Linked DNA regions of Homo sapiens: region 1 is linked to region 2. Evidence: promoter capture Hi-C in human tissues and cell types (Jung and others, 2019). All regions are on one chromosome and are shown on one strand. Each heading gives the region's core, a stretch centred on a gene start or on the middle of the fragment in contact. The rest is flanking DNA. Distances are from core to core; before and after follow the strand shown. Region 1 has its middle 19 kb from the start of KDM4E. Region 2 holds the start of FUT4 (fucosyltransferase 4).

Region 1 (2,700 bases), core at 112-2,611, 460 kb before region 2:
TACACAAAAATCAAATCAAAATGGATTAAAGACTTAAATGTGTGACCTGAAACTATAAAACTACTAGAAAAAAATTGGAGAAATACTTTGGAACATTGGTCTGGGCAAAAATTTCCTGAGTAAGATCTTAAAAGCACAAGCAACTAAAGCAAAAGTAGACAAATGAGGTTATATCAAATTAAAAAGCTCCTGCATAGGAAAGGAAACAATTAACAAACTGAAGAGACACCCTGTTGAATTTAATTGAGTGCTTTTCTGTATCTTTTGAAATTAATCCTACAGAATGGGAGAAAAGATTTGCAAACTATTGGGCATTTTTATTTATTTCATTGGCATCTAAAAGATTAAATGTATCAAAAGTTGCCTCCTTACAAAAGGCAAACAGGTGCATGTTTTTACAGCTTCAATAGCTACAGTGTCCAAGAGGGTTCTTGTACATATTTTGAACCAAAACCAAGGATTTCTAAACTAAAAAATCCCTGTGCCCTGGTATGTGTGACTTTATTGTAAACAGTCATGCCACTGGAAAAGAAAGTGTCTACTTTATCCACTCATTTTGGCCTGGATTTCCCCTCTAAATTTCCCCTCTAAAGGAAACTCCTAAAGATTTTGCTGCTGGGGCAATAATCAACTTATTTAATTAGTCCTCTCTGCTTTTACTTCTCTATTTGCTCCCGCTTCTCCCATAGGAACCTTTTCTCTAGTTGATCCTGCTTCTCCCATGGGAACCTCTTAGTCAACTAAAATCTCTCTTCTCAGTCCCCTGCTGACTATATGCACTGCCAACGATCTGTGTTGTAATGATCTTTGCTCTGCACCTCCAAACTCTTTCTTGGTTGTAAGAAAAATTTAAAAAGTATATCTCCATTTGTAAGGGAGTCTCCTTCTCTGCACCTGAAGGAGAAGGACGATTAAATCACTGGAAGCTTTTTAGAATGGAGAAGTCAAAGACTTAGGTCTGTGTAAGGAGTCTCACCTTTGACCATTTTGTCCTAACTAGGCTTCCTATATGCTTTTCTTTTTCTCAAGAGGTAATGGTGTTTAGGCCTGAAATCTGATGCAATGACAACCTAACCAACAATAATTAGGCTCATCAGTCAAGGAAATTACAAGGACCCTTTGACTAAAGTCTTTTGCTGAAATGAATAAAACGCTCAGGGGTTGAAGAAAATATCCTCAGATAAATAGATTTTGAGAAAGATGAATAGACCCTTAGAAGGATAGATGATGGTTTGTAACAAGGTCTGTCTGGGTGTGGTGAAGTCTCCTTTCCCGCAATGAGTTAATTTTCAGAGGATTAATGACAATTGAGTTTCTTTTGTAAAAGCTATCTTAAGGCAGATGGAGGGACCCTCAGAGAGCCTTGCATCTTGTGTTTTTCAAGTTCCTGCAGCTCAAAATAATCACTATAATAAAGCAATATATTTTTAGGGTAGCATTACCTAAATTTCTTCAATGCTGGCTTTGTTTAATGAGCAATTTAAGCATAATTGTTTAGAATGAGTAAATTAGGAGGAGTATAAATGGGATGGAAGTTTGTGGATGAACTTGACATGGTTTCTGAGCCCTTTTAAAGTAAATTAAAATGCTGAAATATGCTGCTCAACCATTCTGATTTTGTGTTTTGGAAGAAGGGTCTCCGATGAAGAGAGGATAAATGTGATACTGACTAGTGGGGAATTTCTCAATTAGCTTTAATGATTGGGGTAGGCTACTAGAAATTGTAATGAAGAGAAAATAACCGTTCACTGCTTTCATTCAGAAAATATGGAATGTGTCTTAACTAGTTGGAAAACACTGAGTAATGAAATGATGAGCTGGTTGAGGCTGATAATCAATGCATGGCCATATTCATTTATTTAACTGATATTTGACCATTTAGTATGTGTAACATCCTACCAGGGCCAGGGAAGTAATGGCAAACAAGGTAGATGTAGTTTCTTCCATCATGCAGTGTCACAGAAGAACTAGATGTACACATGTACGCAGTATAAGTCAGAAAATTAATCATTTTTTAAGTGCTATGAAGAAAAAGTATTATTCACTCCCTGTGTTCTGTGTTAGTATCTGCAAATAGATGAATGGTTGAATTGAACTCATGTCAGCCATTTTTGTTGTCATTTATCTGTCATAGTGTCATTTATTAGACATAGTGCTATGACACTATGTCATTTATTAGACATAGTGCTAGTATCACAGGTTAATGTTTGAAAATAGATAAATTCTGCTAGTGATACATCTTTTTATATGATGTAAAGAAGCTAGGTGTATCTGGGCATTAATAAACATAAAAGGGATTGTATTATGAGGAAACATTTTTCTAAAATTATGAAATGGGCTTCATCTACAAAATGCTGATATAAAACAGTTCAAAATTGCTCACTCTGGCTGGACATGATGGCTCATGCCTGTAATCCCTGAATTTGGGGAGGCAGACGCAGGAGGATTGCTACATAGCGAGACTCCATCTCTACAAATGTAAAAAATTAGCTGGGTGTGATGGGAGTAGTCCCAGCTACTCAGTAGGCTGAGGTGGGAGGATCACTTGAGCCCAGGAGGTTGAGGCTTCAGTGAACTATGATTGGGTCACTGCACTCTAGCCTGGGTGACAGAGCAAGACAAAAAAAAGAAAGAAGGAAAGGAAAGGAAAGGAAAAAGGAGAATGCTTACTCCCTAAGTTTTCACTAGAAACTAAAGTTA
Region 2 (2,729 bases), core at 197-2,696:
CAGGTAGAACTTGTAGCGGGCCACTGTGTGCAGGAGCCCAATTTCGGGCACCGGCTGCCCCGGCCCGCCCCGGCCGAACACGTCCACGGTCACATGTTGGCTCAGTTGGTGGTAGTAGCGGACCCGGGCCTGGCGCTCGTCCCAGTGGCTCACCACCCATGCCACCAGCCCCTGTTTCCTGGACAGTGGCGGGGCCAGGCCTGAGGGCGGGTCGCCGGGGTGGCTTCTGGGGTAGAGGTAGCCATAAGGCACAAAGACGTCCGAGTCCGCCCGGTAGGAGAGCGTCCAGTTGAAGAGGTTACTTGCCAGGCTTCGCAGCCCCGGGGAGTGCGAGGGCGACTCGAAGTTCATCCAAACCCAGCGCTGGCCCGGGGGCCTGGGGCTGGAGGTCGCCAGGGCTTCTGCCGCCGCCGCTGCCTCCTCGTAGTCCAACACGCGCAGATCCACCTCCTCGGCAGTGTGCGCCTGGATGCCCCAGGGCGGGGGCCAGTCGGGGGGCCCCTTCACGAGGTCGCGGTGGTGGAAAAGCACGGCCTGAGCCTCTCCGTAGGACGCGCGGTCGGTGAGCAGGCGGCAGCCGCTGATGTTGAAGCGCAGCCGGCAGTCAGGGGGCGGCCTCGGGGCGCTATCGCGCCCCCCGAAGGGCTCCCACCACAGCAGCACGCCCACCGGTCGCGACGGGGTTGGCGACGCCCAGGGCAGCGGCGGCAGCTGCCCCCAGCAAGCGTAGGTGATCAGCGCCGTACACGTCAAGCCGGCGGCCGCCAGCACACAGACGGTCCATGGCAGCCCCCGGCCTCGGCGCCACCCGCGCCGCCCGCCCGCCGCCGCCGTCGGCGAGCCCCACGGTGCCCCCATGGCGCGAACAGGCAGCGCTGCCTCCGCTCGCCACGCGTCCGCAGGCGTGGAGGAGCGGCACCGGCTCTCATGCTGTAGCTGCGGCTCCAGCCGTCGCTGCCGCTCGCCGCTGGCCCGGGAATGGAAGGGGGCGGTCCCAGAATGCAAAGGCCGCGGGCCCTGCCCTGCTCCTCCCAAGTGCCGGGCGGGGCGAGCCGCCAGGGCAAGGTGAGCTGGCCAGGACGCCCAACCGGGCACCGCCCGTCCCTTTCTTCCACTGCGCCCGGGGCCCAGCCGGCCCGACCAGGCCCCGGGAGCCTCCTGCGGCGCCTCCGCCCACTCCTTCTCCCAGCCCGCGCCCGAGGGCTTCCGGGCCGCGCCCCACAAGCGCCTCATCCGCTACTCTTGATTCTCTCTCAACTGATCCGGTTTCCCTCTGCGCGCGCCCACCGCCCTGGCCCTCGCTCACTGTGGCCCGAACCCTCGCCTTCCAGAGGGAAGGCCCGGTTCATCCCTGGGAAGGTACAGGAGGCTCGAGACCTTCTAAAGCAGCTGCCGCGCAGGAGCAGGCCCTAGAACAGACGGAAGGCGGACCCGGCGCCGCGGAACGGAGGATAGCGTCGGCTTCCTGCCGTTGGGCCTAGCCACCCGCCAGCGACGCCCGCCGGAGGGAGGGATTGAGGGAGGGAGGGAGTCCAGAGGCCGGGGGAACGTGCGAGCAGAGGCGCGGCCACCGCATCCGTGGCCAGGATCTCGTGGCCCGCCGAGACGGTCGAATTGTGGAGGCAGCCCGCAGCGGCGTGGCCTTCAGAGTCTCTGCATTTGGTGAAGAACTTAAGTTTTCAATGTGAGTGCTCATAAGAACATTTCCTTTGCCTGCCAGCCCAGTAAAGGATAGAGAACAAAATGTTTTCTTAGCAATCAAAACATGTTCTTTCCTTTGGTCCCCTACCAAATAAGTCTGACTTGCCGGCTCATAGTAGTATTGCTTGTACCAAGACGCACAGGACTCATAAACCAAAGATGAAGATGTGACCCCCCCAAGGCCCTTGTCGTCAAGGAATTTATTGCCTGTTCAGTGAGATGAATGAATGAATATCACTATTAATTTTACCAAGCACTTAAAAAACATTTTCTGCACCCATGAAAGTTATGCAAAATAGTTTGGATGATAAAATGATGACGAAGATAAATATTCTAGCACCCAAGTTAAGGGTGTAAAGACAGTATCGCACTGGCCTCTTCTACCTTATTAGGCGACACTGGAGACATCTACGTCTACAGTCACTTGAGAAATTTTTTACCTACGGGTTGAATTTGAATTTCTGGGTGTTCGCTTTGGTTTATGATATTCAACTTTTATTCAGGGGATTTCCAAATAGATCAGGGGCGGGGCTGCTGACCTAAGGAGAGGAGAAAGTTTTGAGAGAAGTTTTAGTAGATCACAGCTGTGCATCAGTGGAGTCCCACTGATACTAGGGGAGAAATAGACAGTGCTGGGAATGGGGCAATCCTGCCAGGTGTTTTTGATGTTATGCCTACAGAAAATAAATTTGCGTTAGCCATATGAATTTAAGAATGTTTTCATTAAAAATCAAGTATAGGCCAGGCGCGGTGGCTCACGCCTATACTCCCAGCACTTTGGGAGGCCGAGGCGGGCGGATCCCGAGGTCAGGAGATCGAGACCATCCTGGCTAACACGGTGAAACTCTGTCTCCACTAAAAATAAAAAAAAATTAGCCAGGCTTGGTGGCGGGCGCCTGTAGTCCCAGCTACTCGGGAAGCTGAGGCAGGAGAATGGCGTCAACCCAGGAGGCGGAGCTTGCAGTGAGCCCAGATCGCGCCACTGCACTCCAGCCTGGGCGACAAAGCGAGACTCCGTCTCGGAAAAA

Evidence for each region. The method cuts DNA at HindIII sites, captures the fragments that hold promoters and counts their contacts. A contact is called where the count stands out against the background at its distance.
Region 1: a contact is called between a fragment that was not itself captured here and the fragment with the promoter of FUT4 in region 2, in 1 of the 25 tissues and cell types used here (H1 embryonic stem cells).

What each region holds. Positions count from the first base shown.
Region 1 is chr11:95,005,289-95,007,988 of GRCh38, reverse strand. No RefSeq gene overlaps it. Among named protein-coding and RNA genes, the nearest start is that of KDM4E, 19 kb to the left of the region's middle. The HindIII fragment of the contact is 4,646 bases long and covers 1-2,700 here.
Region 2 is chr11:94,542,638-94,545,366 of GRCh38, reverse strand. FUT4 (fucosyltransferase 4) reads right to left here and starts at 1,446. Exons shown (of 1, transcript NM_002033.4): 1 at 1-1,446. The coding sequence starts at 1,233. It overlaps PIWIL4-AS1 (PIWIL4 antisense RNA 1), which reads left to right. Exons shown (of 5, transcript NR_135093.1): 5 at 1-35. RefSeq lists a silencer at 689-1,258. The HindIII fragment of the contact is 7,218 bases long and covers 1-2,729 here.